2 separate regions of the Homo sapiens genome follow, and region 1 is linked to region 2. The links are contacts of gene promoters, found by promoter capture Hi-C in human tissues and cell types (Jung and others, 2019). All regions are on one chromosome and are shown on one strand. Each heading gives the region's core, a stretch centred on a gene start or on the middle of the fragment in contact. The rest is flanking DNA. Distances are from core to core; before and after follow the strand shown.

Evidence for each region. Contacts are between HindIII fragments. The study calls those that stand out against the background at their distance.
Region 1: a contact is called between a fragment that was not itself captured here and the fragment with the promoter of FAM217A in region 2, in 6 of the 25 tissues and cell types used here (H1 embryonic stem cells, IMR-90 fibroblasts, bladder and 3 more).

What each region holds. Positions count from the first base shown.
Region 1 is chr6:4,110,542-4,117,948 of GRCh38, forward strand. ECI2 (enoyl-CoA delta isomerase 2) reads right to left here. Exons shown (of 10, transcript NM_206836.3): 9 at 6,767-6,910; 10 at 5,165-5,488. The coding sequence ends at 5,333. It also overlaps the pseudogene TEX56P. Among named protein-coding and RNA genes, the nearest start is that of ECI2, 21 kb to the right of the region's middle. The HindIII fragment of the contact is 3,279 bases long and covers 3,282-6,560 here.
Region 2 is chr6:4,077,364-4,084,067 of GRCh38, forward strand. FAM217A (family with sequence similarity 217 member A) reads right to left here and starts at 1,774. Exons shown (of 7, transcript NM_173563.3): 1 at 1,489-1,774; 2 at 1-85. The coding sequence starts at 51. It also overlaps the pseudogene TEX56P. The HindIII fragment of the contact is 11,916 bases long and covers 1-6,704 here.

The sequences.
Region 1 (7,407 bases), core at 3,671-6,170, 36 kb after region 2:
TCCGTGAACATGTGAAGTCTTCCCATTTATTTATTTGTCTTCTGTAATTTATTTCAGTAATGTTTTGTAGTTTTCACTAAGTATTATGCCTCATTGGATAAACTCATTCCTAAATTTGGTTATTTTTGATGTTATTATAAATTGAATGGTTTTTCTCAATTTCCTTTTTGGAATTTTCATTGCTAGTATTTATTTATCTTTAATCTTTATTTTTTCCTTCTTTCTGCTAGTTTTGGATTTAGTTTGTTCTTTTTCTAGTTTCTTATGGTGTAAATCTAGGCTGTTTATTCAAAATCTTTCTTTTTTCTTAATGTGTTTGCAGCTGCAAATTTCCATCTTAGCACTGCTTTCAGATCCTCCCATAAGTTTTGGTTTGTCGTGTTTTCATTTGTGTCAAGATATTTTAAATTTTTTGTGATTTTTCTTGACCCATTGGTTATTTAAAAGTGTGTTAATTTCTACATACTTGTGAATTGTCCAGGTTTTTGCTGTTAACTTCTAGTTTCATTTCATTGTGATGAGAAATGATATTTTGTATTTCAATTTTTAAATCTATTAAGATGTCCTATGGCTTAACATATGGAAAATGCTCCATGTGCACTTAAAAAATACATATTCTGTTGTTGTTAAGTGCAGTGTACTGTATGTGTCTGCTGGGTCCAGTGGGTCTATAGTGTTTTTTAAGTCCTATATTCCCCTATGATCTTCTACCTGGTTCTCTATCCACTGAAGAAAGTGGAGGTATTGAAGTTTTCTACTATTATTGTAGGGCCATTTATTCTTCAATTCTGTCAATGTTTGCTTCATATATTTTGGAGCTCTAATATTTAGTGCATATGTTTATAATTGTCATATCTTCTTGGTAAATTGAGACTTTTAGCATTATATTATGTCTGTCTTTGTCTCTTTTAACAGTTTTTGACTTAAAGTCTATTTTGTCAATTAGTATAGCCATTTCTGCTCTCTTTTTATTACTATTGGCATGGAATATCTTTTTAATCCTTCCACTTTCACCCTACTCATATCCTTAGATCTAAAGTGAGACTCTTTTAAACAGTATATAGTTGATCCTGGTTTTATACCCACTCTGCCAACTTATGATTTTTGATATGTTTTCAATCCAATTACATATAAATTGCTGAAAAGAAAGCAATTAGTTTTGCCATTTTGTTGTTTTCTCTGTCCCTTACAGGTTTTTTTCTCCCTCATTTCCTTGATTACTGCCTTCCTTCATGTTTAAAGTTGTTGTAATGGCATATTTTGATTCTCACTTCTGCTTGCGTATATTTTCTTGGTGTTTACTATGTGCACTACATATAACATCCTAGAGTTATGATGATCTATCTTAATTGATACCAACTTAACTTCAATTGCATATAAAAACTCTACTTCCTTAAAGCTTTTCTCCCCTTATGTTATTGATGTCACAAATTATACGGTTTAATATTATATATTCATTAACATATATTCATAATTATTTTATGCAATTGTCTCTTAAATCCTGTAGAAAATCAAAAGTGGAGTTATAAACCAAAATTACATTAATACTGTTTTTATATTTGTTCATATATTTACCTTTACTGGAGAACTTTATATTTTCATCTGTCTTCCAGTTACTATCTAGCATTATTTCATTTCAAACTGGAGGACTTCCTTTAACATTTCTTGTAGGGCAAGTGTAGTAATAATAAATTCCCTCAGCTTTTGTTTTTATGGGAATGTCTTAATTTCTCCCTCATTTTTGAAGAAACATTTTACCAGGTATAGAACTCTCAGTTGACAGTTTTTTTTAAAATTTTCAGCACTTTAAATATATCACCCCACTGCCTCTAGTCTCCAAGGTTCTTGCTGAAATAATACTCGGATAGTCTTATCGCAGATCTCTTGTATATAGTCACTTTTCTCTTGATGCCTTCCAAGATTCTCTTTATCTTGCACTTTTGTCAGCTTTGATTATGTGTCTTCGTATGGGTCTCTTCAGGTTTGTCCTACTTGGAGACCATTGAGCTTGGATTTGTATATCCATGTCTTTCCTCATATTTGGCAGGTTTTCAGCTATTATTTATTCAAATAGTCTCTCTCCTCATTTTTCTCACCTCCTTCTGGGACTCCCATTATGCATATATTGGTCAGTGTGATGGCATCTCATAAGTCCCTAAGCCTCTGTTCACTTTATTTTTTCTTCTGTATGCTTCTCAAATTCAATAATTTCAAATGAGCTGTTTTCAAATTTGCTTATTCTTTCTTCTACTTATTTGAGTTTGCTGTTGAACTCCTCTAATAAAATTTTCAAATTAGTTATTGTACTTTTCAGCTCAATATTTTTTTTTATAATTTCTTTGTTGATGTTCTCATTTTGTTCATATGTTTTCTTGACTTTCCTTTGTTCTTTGTTCATGTTTTTCTACAGTTCTGCGAGTATATTTGACATTTGTGGTTTTTTTTTGTTGTTGTTTTGAGACAGACTCTCACTCTGTTGCCCAGGCTGAAGCGCAGTCATGTGATCTTGGCTCACTGCAACCTCTGCCTCCTGGGTTCCAGTGATTCTCATGCCTCAGCCTTCTGAGTAGCTGGGATTACAGGTGTGCAGCACCATGCTCTGCTAATTTTTTTGTATTTTTAGTAGAGATGGGGTTTCACTATGTTGGCCAGGCTAGTGTCAACTCCTGGCCTCAAGTGATCTGACTGCCTTGGCCTCCCAAAGTGCTGGGATTATAGGCATGAGCCATCGCACCTGGCTGACAGTTGTTTTAAAGTCTAGTAAGCCTGATGCCTGTGTTTCTTCCAGAACTGTTTCTGGAGATGTGTTTTGTTCATTTCAGTGGGCCATCTTTCCCTGGTTCTTTGCATGCCTTATGATCTTTTTTTGAAAATTGGGTATTTAAAAAAAATATGGCCACTCTCCCAGTCTTTGCAGACTGGCATGTAAGACCTCACTAATTTGTAAGTCCATGAGGTCTTCACTAATCTGAGATTAGTCCAGGTCTTCTCAGGTCTTTTCTAGGCATGCTTCCTTCCTGTGAATGTGTGTGTGCTCCCTGTCCCCATCAAAGGTGATTTTAAAGGTCTTCATTTCCTAAACAGTCTCACTGCAGCTTTTTCTTAGGGCCTTAGATATTCTATTGTATTCCTCTGTAATCTCCTGCCCTCAGAGGTCCACAGGGCAGCAATCCCTGTGTAGTTTTCATGTGCTGCATTGCTCACCACTGCCTTCTGTGGCTTCCAGCCTGAAATCAAAACTATTTGCTGTCTCCAGTCTGATACCTGAGTTGGACATTACAGACACCATTTCTGTAGGCAGCCCACAGACAGGCCAGGATGTTGCAACAAGTTTCACTCTGCTCCTTCTGTCCAAGTGTTCACATTTCCATGTTTCTTTTTATGTCACATCATTTTGTAAATATTATGTCATATGGATCCTGGATCCATATGACAGCTTCTTCTCAGGGCCTTAGATATTCTATTGTATGGTTGGATCCAATATTATGTCATATGGATCCTGGATATTTACTGTATTTACTATATTGTGGCATTGGATGGAAGTTATGTTTTTGTGGATCATGTTACAATCATCTGGAAAATGCCATTTTTGTTTTAGCAAGAAATCAATCTGGTTAGGTTCAGACTACAAGCTGTCTTGATCTTCTGTGGGTGGTGGTTAAAATCCCAGTACACTTCGCAAAGCCTTTGCTATGCTGGTTTGAGTCTGTCTCACTTATGAATCAGACTTATCTAGGTTCATACACAGAATTAGAGCTTCTTTCTCTTGGCTCTGGGAGTCTCTTCTTGCTTTCACTCTTTAGCCCCCAGAGGGCCCTTTTCCTTTTCAAAGTGTTTTTGTTTTCCTCAACTTCTATTTGGCTGGCCACTCCATGGTCACCGCAGCACCACCCCACAATAGGGGTGTGCCTCTGAGGCAGAAGTATTAGGTTGGTGCAAAAGTAACTGCAGTTTTGCCTTACTTCTAATACCATGCTCCGGAGTTAGATTCCAGCAATTGTGTTTATTTCTCATAATCTGGGAAACTTATCCTTGTGCAGTTGCTTCTCTGTATTTTGACACCCTTTAACAATCCACCTGCTTTTGATTAATTTCAGCATGCTCAAGTAGTTCTTTTTCGTATTTCTTCTAGAGATTTTAGTTGTAATTTGTGGAGGAATGGGCAGTAGTTGGCTTGTGCTGCCATTGTGGGATGAGAACTCTGCCTAGATTTTTATCTTCATTTTGACATTTACTGGGAGTTTGACTCTGGAGAAGCTAGTTTAATCTCCATGCCTCGGGATGCCTACTTGAAAATGGGTAGTAGCAACAGACCTACCTCATTTTTAATTTTTGGCATTGTTTTTGGTGGATAAAATATGATAATGGGCATTAAGCACTAGTAACTGCTCAATTGAAACGAATGCTTATTTCTATTCTTATATTTTCTATAAAACTGAACATCTTGGATTACAATTACTGGAATAAAAAATTTAGAACTAAAAAGTTAAGAGATTTGGTGAGTTAGCTAACTTTGACCTTAAAGGAAAGGTCAAAAGGAAGACTAAGAAAAGCAAAATATCCCATCCTTTTCTGTAGCCCTTGGAATTACACCCTCAGTCCTTGTCAAGTGATAGCTATGAAATCAAAACAGGGTGTTACAAGGACAATCAAGGCAGCTTGCAGGGATGCCTTTCATAAAGTACCACATTAAACAAGAATGGGACTCTAACAAATAAGAAAACAATTACTCATACAGAGCATTGCTTTCCAATGAAATGACCCAGTTTTCCCTTCATGCCTCTTTATTAAATTGTGCAAAAAAACCCAACTAAGATTCTTATTTGGGTTCTTATTCTTATTCTTGATTCTTATTTGTTTTCTAGTAATACTATTCCTTCCATTTTGCTCCCTTGCTACATGGCTGAAAAAGAACATGCAACCCACTGAAGACCTCAAGTCAGTGATCTGTAGGCTGTCAGCATTTGGCCCAATTCAGTCAGCCACTGTTTGTGGACGTCAAAGTGCTATAGTGGCATTCAAAGACATGACTTCAGCCTGTAATGCTGTGAGTGCTTTTCAAAGTAGGACCCCAGGCACCATGTTCCAGTGTTCCTGGCAACAACGATTCATGTCAAAAGACGTAAGACTCTCTACTACCAAACACCTGTGTGAATTCTTAAGCTTGTTTTACAAAACTTTTTATTCATCAGAGCTGTAGTGAAATATCATCATTGTAATTGATATTCTAGCACTACAAAAGGCACAATGAAGCTTATTTAGTTCCAGTACTGGAAATCAGAGGTAACAGCACATCCTTCCTTGGACATGCTTTACTCTGCTGTAGTGGTCATCACAGTTTTGATTTTCTGGATAAGAAGTTCACCACAGCATTTGTGCATTCATCTGATAGCCATCTTCCCTGAAGGACATTGCATTCTTCAGCATTAACAGCGTGTAGTTTTTCTCTCTCTCTTTTCCTGATTACCTCTTTTGAAATTCTCAAGGCCTGGAAAAACAAAACCAACAATAAGGTTAAGAGTTGACCTAGGCTGGACGTGGACTCATGCCTGTAATCCCAGCACTTGGGGAGGCCGAGGCGGGCAGATCAGTTGAGGTCAGGAGTTCAAGACCAGCCTGGCCAACATGGTGAAACCCCATCTCTACTAAAAATACAAAAATTAGCTGGTTGTGGTGGTACATGCCTGTGATCCCAGCTACTCAGGAGGCTGAGTCAAGAGAATTGCTTGAACCCGGGAGGCGGAGGTTGCAGTGAGCTGAGATCGCACCATTGCACTCCAGCCTGGGTGACAAGTGAGACTCTGTCTCAAAAAGAAAAAAAGAGTTAATCTAATAGGAGTGAGATTATTCTATGATTCTGGTTCTTGTTTCTCCCATGTTCATTTAATAAATCCTGTTAAATCTTTTTTTTTTTTCTGAGACATAGTCTCACTCTGTCGCCCAGGCTGGAGTGCAGTGGTGCAATCTTGGCTCATTGCAACCTCTGCCTCCCGGGTTCAAGCAATTCTCCCTGCCTCAGCATCCAGAGTAGCTGGGATTACAGGCGCCCACCACCACGCCTGGCTAATTTTTGTATTTTTTAAATAGAGATGTGGTTTTGCCATGTTGGCCAGGCTGTTCTTGAACTCCTGACCTCAGGTGATCTGCCCTTCTTGGCCTCCCAAAGTACTGAGACTACAGGTGTGAGCCACTGTTCTCGGCCCTAATGCTGTTAAATCTTAAGCTGCATGTGTAATATAAGACAGTGCTTCTCAAAATTCAGTGTGCATATAAATCGCTTCAGTAGGTGTGGGGCAGGCCTGTGATAATACATTTCCAAAAAGCCTCAGGTAGCTGCTCAAGCTTCTGGCTCCAGGACTACATTTTGAATAGCAAGAATATAAAAGCAATCAGTCACTCACTACCACATACAAAAACAAAAGTGCTATACAATAAGACTCTCAAAGTAGCTAATCCATGCTTCTCACCTGGATTCCAAAGTAAAAGTGCTCAGCAAATACTGCCTAGCATCCTGCTCAAGTAATCCCCATACAGAATTGCCCTCTGTCCCCACACAGAAATGGAAGGTCTATTTGATAAGTTTTGTAAAAATCAGTACTGCATTTCCAACATTACTACAGTTATTTTTTAATTCCAAATTTAGATGTGCTTAGAGGTAACTAAAGATGTGTCTTGTGCTTTTTATGACTTATTCTCTGAAGGCAAATAAATTTTTCCCTTAGGAAATCATTTTCAAGGTTCTTAGAAGTAAAAGATGAATACTAACATTTGGGGGAAGCTTTGCAAATGCCTTCAGCCTGGTCCAGACTTCTTTCTGAAAAGTGCTATCAGGGAAAACTTCAGTAACAAGTCCTTGAGCACATGCCTCTCCCGCTGTTAACTTCTTTCCAAAAATAAGCATCTCTGTTGCCTGAAATGAAAAGCAAGAAGCAAGGTTAAGATACTAACTTAATAAAACAAGGCTTCAGTTAACTGCTTTCAGGAGGCTTAGAGAGATGTACTCATGGTCTTTTGAGGTTGCTGGTATTTCTCAGTAAGGGAGAAGCTGATGACCTCAATAGGCAACGGTTTGCAAACTGTGTGCTGAGACAGGCTCCTGGGAAGGTCTATAAGGGCTGCTGCTTCTGTGTATCGTTGTTGGAGGGGCAAGATCAGGGGGTCCAGGGCAGAAATGATCTGAAGCAGATGCTTGATTCTATAACCCACAGCAGCTATGATTTTCCATTTGATACACTATAAACTATTATTTTACAGAGGAAAAAAGGAGAGAAAAATTACGGTCATTGGGTCAACCTTTAGAAACTTTCAAAATTCCATTCTCTGGAAACTACCCAGTGATCTGGCTCTGAGAGTTTTCTTTACCTGCATTGGTACTCAAATTAGTTCTATTTGACTAAAGGAAAGCAA
Region 2 (6,704 bases), core at 524-3,023:
GATGTTTGACACACGTAGGCTGTTAGCACAGTTCTCATTTCTTCTCCCCATTTTGTTGTAGCTGTTGCTCTGTTTCCTTAAAATCCTACACAGATTGCGGGATAGGCACATTTATGGGTAAGGGTCAACATTTATAAAAAAGAAAGTGTGAGTTTTGATTTCCCATCTAAAGGAGGTAAGAGAATGCTTAGAAAGCAGAAGAGAGGGGCTAGGAGAGCAGGGTGGGGGTGACAGTACGAAACCAACCAGAAGCAAGGGGCAAGCCTGACTCAAAAGGAGCACAGACAACAGCAAACTGGCAGATCTCAGAACAGAAGATTAGGAAATTGAGATCAGAGGTGAGAAAGCAAATATCAGCTAAGAAGATGAAATACACATTGGAACAAACTATGGTGAATTATCTGGAACTTAGAAAACAGGGGCACAAAGTCTCCTTTTATTCATTCAAAACAATTGCTCCATTTGAAAGCAGGGTTGAACCCTTACAACTAGGCCAGGCAAGCACCCCGTGCATATTTCGGAGACAACAAAATGCCCCCAGGACCAAACAATATTTTCCGCACCAATCAATCAAGGTACCTAAAGGGTTTTAACCCACTGCCGTTTAAGGTAAAAGAATTAGAGAACTCTAAGGTAACAAGCAAAACAGTCACTGGATTAAGGTATGGCTATCTGGAAAGAATCACTTTTTTTTTTTTTTTTTTTTTTGAGACAGAGTCTCGCTCTGTTGCCCAGACTGGAGTGCAGTGGCGCGATCTCGGTTCACTGCAACCTCCGCCTCCCGGGTTCAAGCGATTCTCCTGCCTCAGCCTCCCGAGCAGCTGGGATTACAGGCGAGCACCACTACGCCCAGCTAATTTTTATATTTTTAGTAGAGATGGGGTTTCACCATGTTGGCCAGGCTGGTCTTGAACTCCTGACCTCGTGATCCACCTGCCTCAGTCTCCCAAAGTGCTGGGATTACAGGCGTGATCCACTGCACCCGGCCAAGAATCACAAATTAAAGCCACCGCAGTAATCGGTCTATCTGCTAATCGTTTACAATTGATTGTCTCCTACAGAAAAGTGTATGAAGAAATAGGAGATTTAGTTTAGGTAGGTTTTCAGCCAACACCGGTTATTGGTCCACGAGTGTGTGCATGCCAGACACTAGGTCTGAATGCAGGAGGAAGGCGGTTGCTGAGCAGGTGGCGCTGCCTGGGGCCACCGGGTGTGTGTCAAGAAGGAGGGCATCCAGCTCCTGGAAAAGGCCACCGCACCTGAAGGACGGCCCTGGGGACAAAGGACGCCTTGGGGACTGCGAGTTGGGGGACAGGAGCTTTAGGGGCCAGAGTGCTTGAAGGCGCGTGTCTCAAGGGAGCCGCAAGGCCCCCGTGAAGAGGAATCCCCTTTTCCTCCTGAGCTGTGGCCGGACTGGGTGGGGAGCCCAGTTCCAGGGGTAGCAGGAGGGGGCTGCGGGATTCCCCGGGGCCGGGGCTCTCAACCCACCGCGCGAAGGCCCACGTGTCCTCCCCGGCGTGCTCTCCCGGTGCGCCGCCCCGAGGCCCGAGCGCCTCCGCGTGCGTGGCTGACGGCTTGGAGGGCGCCCCCTCTGCCGCGGCCTTCCTGCAGCGGGGGGACAAAGAGGGCGGCGGGCGGCTGGCGGCCTTGAGCGCAGCCCGGTCGGCAGTGCAGGGCCTGCGAAGCCCGCGGGCCGGCGCAGGGGTGGGAGTCGGGCCCGGGGCCCAGAGAGACCTTCCGGGGCCGGGGCTGCGGCTCCGCGGGCTTCCCCACCGGCCGGGTCTCCCGGCAACTACCAGAGAGCGGGGGCGCCCGGGGAGGCCCGGCGTTCCACAAGGTCCACGCGTATTCGCGGGCCGCGGGGTCGCCGCCGGCCGCCCAGGCGCGGAGCCTCTCGGGGGTCACCCGGCCGCCGGGCCCGCGGGACGCACGGGGCCGCCAGGGGAGGACAACAAGCCTCAGGCCCTGTCCCTGCGCCCCGCCCGGCCTCCCCCGCGGGGCTGCGCAGCCCACTCGGCCATCCTGGCCTGAAGGGGCCGCCCCCGGCCTCGCGGGAAAGCCTGAGCCTCCCGGGCCTTCTCGGGCCTTCTCGGACTTTCCCCCAGGCGTCCTGGACCTTCTTCGGCCTTCCTGGGCCTCCTCGGGCTTCCTTGACCCTCCCCAGGCCTTCCCCGAGGCCTCCAGGCCCTTCCCTGGGCCTCTCCAGGCTGAGCTCTCCGCGACATGGCCAGTGGGCCTCTGGGACCCGGGGCCCGGCCCACCCGCCTCCACCCTCCATTCCCACCGCCTGCTCACATCAAGCCAGGAGCACCGCCCGGTACGTAGTCCTCCAGACTAAGCTACAATATATACGCATTGATACATGTGAAGTTATATCTATGCTTGTACAATATATTAACATAGAAGAAGAGGCATCCTTGTTGACACCAAGCTCATCCGGTCAGTTTCAGGTCCGTCGTCGGCCTTTCAATAGGAAAAACAAAAGATGATTTTTTTTCTTTTTTCATGTAGAGGATACATGTAAATCACACAGCCCAATTTTGTACCCCGAAATGCATATCTCCTATTACAGCTTCATGAAATAAGTGGAGGGGTGGGGGAAGAATCTCTCTCTATCTAGTTAGATATATCTGCATAGCTATCATCACCCCCACCTTTTGATATAGAGAAAAATTTAAAACAAAATTAATTATATATTTAGGTACAGCAAATGAATACTAAACATTTGGGGGGATGAGATCACGGCCATGTCCCTCTGAGAATCTCCCCATAAAAATGCACTTATATACCACATGTTGAAAACAATGTCAGGGGTTTCTCAGGTTCTTTGATCCCTGACTCCTGACTCTTTCCTCTGCATTTCCATTTTCTCCTCAGAAAGACCTTCCCTTTAAAGAAGCTCTTCCCACCTTCCACCTACCTTACTCTATTTCATGACACCCCGTTGTTATTTACTTCTTTGTACTCCTCATAATCTTGCTGTTTACTTGTTTGTTTTTGTATTGTCTGTCTCTCCCCAGTAGAATATCAAACTCCATGTGGGCCGGGGCCTTGTCTGTCTAGTTCATTTCTGTATCCCCAACCCTTTAAAACTGTGCTGGGCACATAGTAGAAGCACAGTGGTAGAAGCACAATCGATGTAAGTGAACGAACAAGATTTGTGCAGGCCTCATTCCTTGCAGCCTCCTTGGAGGTTTCCCTTCTAGGGCCCTCTCTTCCTTCGGCTGTTTTCCATACTGCTGCTCTAAAATACAGACCTGCTCAACTGCCTCCTAATGCCGGAAGGAGGAAACCCTAATTCTGCAGCCATCCCTTAGGTATCTGCTCATCACCTTCCCAGCGCCCACTACATGTCAAGCACATCGGACATTTTACAATTTTCCTAAACACTCTCCTCCAGGGCATACATCATTGTTACTCTTCCTGTAATAGTACCTCCTTTTTATCTCCTTTTCTTTTTTAACCTGCCTAAATTCTAGTCATTACACTTCTAACTCACAAGTCATTTTTCCTGATTGTTCAGGAAGTGTAATTACTAGAAAAAATACAAAAAAAAAAAAAGGAGAGAAAACAAAAGTTGCTGTCTCCTCCAAGATCCTTGCTTCGTTATAATGATTTAATTACAGCCCCTTACTCAGTTACATTGTAATTATTCATTTACAACGTCTCAATCACTTTCTTTTCAACACCTTGAAGGTGATATCTGCCCATATTCTATCTAACAGAGTGCCTGGCATGTACTGTAGTAGGTAAGGCACTCAATAAATGTTTCAATTGATTTAATTATTGCAAAAATAGTATTTTCTGAAATGTATGGTGTGGTGACTATATGCCAGGCATAGTGCTGAACATTTTATATGGATTAACCAATGTATATGCCTGATAATCCAATGAAGCAGGTACCACCAGTTATTCCTATTTTATTTCTTATTTTTAATTTTTATTTATTTATTTTTTTGAGACAGAGTCTTGCTCTGTCACCCAGGCTAGAGTGCAATCGTGTGATCTCGGCTCACTGCAACCTCTGCCTCCCAGGTTCAAGCAATTCTCCTGCCTCAGCCTCCCTAGTTCCCTAGTAGCTGGGATTACAGGCACCAGCCACCACGCCCGGCTAATTTTTTGTATTTTTAGTAGAGACGGGTTTTGCCATGTTGGCCAGGCTGGTCTCGAACTCCTGACTTCAGGTGATCTGCTGGCCTCAGCCTCCCAAAGTGCTGGAATTACAGGCATGAGTCTCTGAGCTCAGCCTAGTTATTCCTATTTTATAATTGAGTAACCTGAGCCTTAGATGTATTATATAACCTTTTCCACCTTACAATTACGAGAAAAATTGCGAATGGGAGTAAATATTGGGGTACATGTATTTCCAGCTAATGCTTTCTACAAATGTATATCTAGCTGGGAAATGTTCCCCGCTCTTGAGACAAATTATGTGTGCTTGTGTGTGCACATGCACACGTGTGTGTAAATTCCAAATATCTGGCTTACACATTTCCCCTCTTCCTTGCTTTGTGTTTCTGTTCATGCCTTTTTCTGTTATTTCAGAACTCAAACTGATTCCTGATCCCTTAGAGTCCTTGTGAGATTTGTCATCCATAAATACATCCTCTAAGATTCTTTTTTTTTCTTAACAGAACTTATTCTTAAAAATGTTCCTTTCATATTATCACCCCCACTCAACTGGTCTTCCTTTCTCTGGAGACTTTTGAATGCTTTGACATCAGCATCAAAATCATGGCTGGCCATTCCCTCATTGCTAAATGTGCACGGCTGTGGAGATGTGAAATATGAAAGCGACAACTTGGAAATTGTGCCCTCTCCAAACCCTTGGGTCTGGTCTGGCTCTGGCCCAGCGTAGGAGGTTGGACAGTGGGTCATTTTCTACAGCAGCTCAGACCCAGCTCAACATCAATCCCAAGGCCAAAGAAAATGCACCTTCCTTCTGTTGGGGCTCGGAAAACAGTACCCCAAAATGAAGGCTTCGGAAATAGCCTCAGAAACACGTTTTTCTCTGACCTTCTTCTGCCCTCCTGTCTCTCAGTCCCAGTCTCCCTCCGAGGCTAGCCTGAGAAACTAGAATCCCTCTTCTCCAATGCAGGTTACAGAAATCAGAATGCTTTTTTCCCAAAGCCAGCCATAAAACCTAAAAATATTACTCCAATTTTCCCTTTGCCTTTCTGTGTAAAAACTGGCCATAAAGAAATTATCTGACCCCCATTCCAGAGAGTGGCCCATACCCAGAAGGAAGGAATGCTGCTCAGAGAGGCCAAGAAGAATCTAGAGAGACAGGCCTTGCTGGGTTCCCCCACTCAGGCTGTTAGCGTTAGATCAGACCTTTTTTGTCCTATCGTATTTCTACACAGCTGTCCATACTTTGTTGAACCTAAGCATAAAAATGGAAACTCTCCCCTGTATTTCTGAGTTTTCATTCTGTACACTCCCATGTATAAACACATGCTAAATAAACGTGTATGCCTTTTCCCCAATTACTCTGCCTTTTGTACTTGAGTACTTCTCCTGTCTCAGCCTCCCAAGTTGCTGGGACTACAGGTGCAGGCCACCACGCCTGGCTAATTTTGATTTTTCAGCAAATCTTCAGAGGGCCAAACCCTTGGCCCCTACACCTCCAGCCATCTCATGGCCATGCCCAGGATTCAGATTTTAGTGGTAGCCTCAGCTTGCCTTACTTTAAATCTGCACCTCTTTAGCTGATCCTGAGTGAAACCATTGTTTCATAAACACAGTAGGATGAGGCAGATGCTCTCTATTTCAGGCATTTAGCAAGCTCTTACGTTAATTACAAGGGAGGCAGGCTAAGGAAACAAAGGCAAGCCTTGGGCCAGTCACTTAGTAGTCCAGTAAGCACAGCTTGCTGCCCACCTCAGTTTCTCCTCCTATAACAAAGGCGATGACACTGACTACCACGTAACTACTTTGGAAAGCACCTTGAGATAACATTCCTTTTCATTGTCCTGAATTATGCAAAGATATGTCAGTAGCAACATTACTTAGTTTCTAATTATTCTGGAGGGAAAAGCCTTCTATTTCAGTCTACCTCCTTCAGTATCTTTCACCTTTTGATATTACCCATGCATTTGTCCTCATCTTCCTTTGTTTTTCCCTTTAGAATTGCCAAGGTCATGGCTGGTCACGTACAGCAGAATCTTTTTGTTTCTTTCTTTTCTTTTCTTTTCTTTTTTTTTTTTGAGACAGAGTCCCACTCTGTTGCCCAGGGTGGAGTGCAATGGCACATTCTCAGCTCACTGCAACCTCTGTCTCCCAGGTTCAAGTACTTCTCCTGTCTCAGTCTCCCAAGTTGCTGGGACTACAGGCGCATGCCACCACGCCTGGCTAATTTTTTTGTATTTATAGTAGAGACGAGGTTTCACCATATTGGTCAGGCTGGTCTCAAACTCCTGACCTCAGGTGGTCCACCCGTGTCGGCCTCTCAGAGTGCTAGGATTACAGCTGTGAGCCACTGTGCCCCAGCCTACAGCAGAATCTTGTTCAATATAATTATGTAACATTTTCTGAAAGTTAGGACACTATTTTCTAAATAATAATATGCATTTTTGTTCTCAAATAAGATGCTAAGTCAGTGGGAAACATTTCATTTCAATTATGGGCAATCTGTATTTAGCATATGGTTTAGCGATCTGGTCTTATTTTTGTTTTTCCTTTTTGAGAACTGCTTTGTCTTTCAG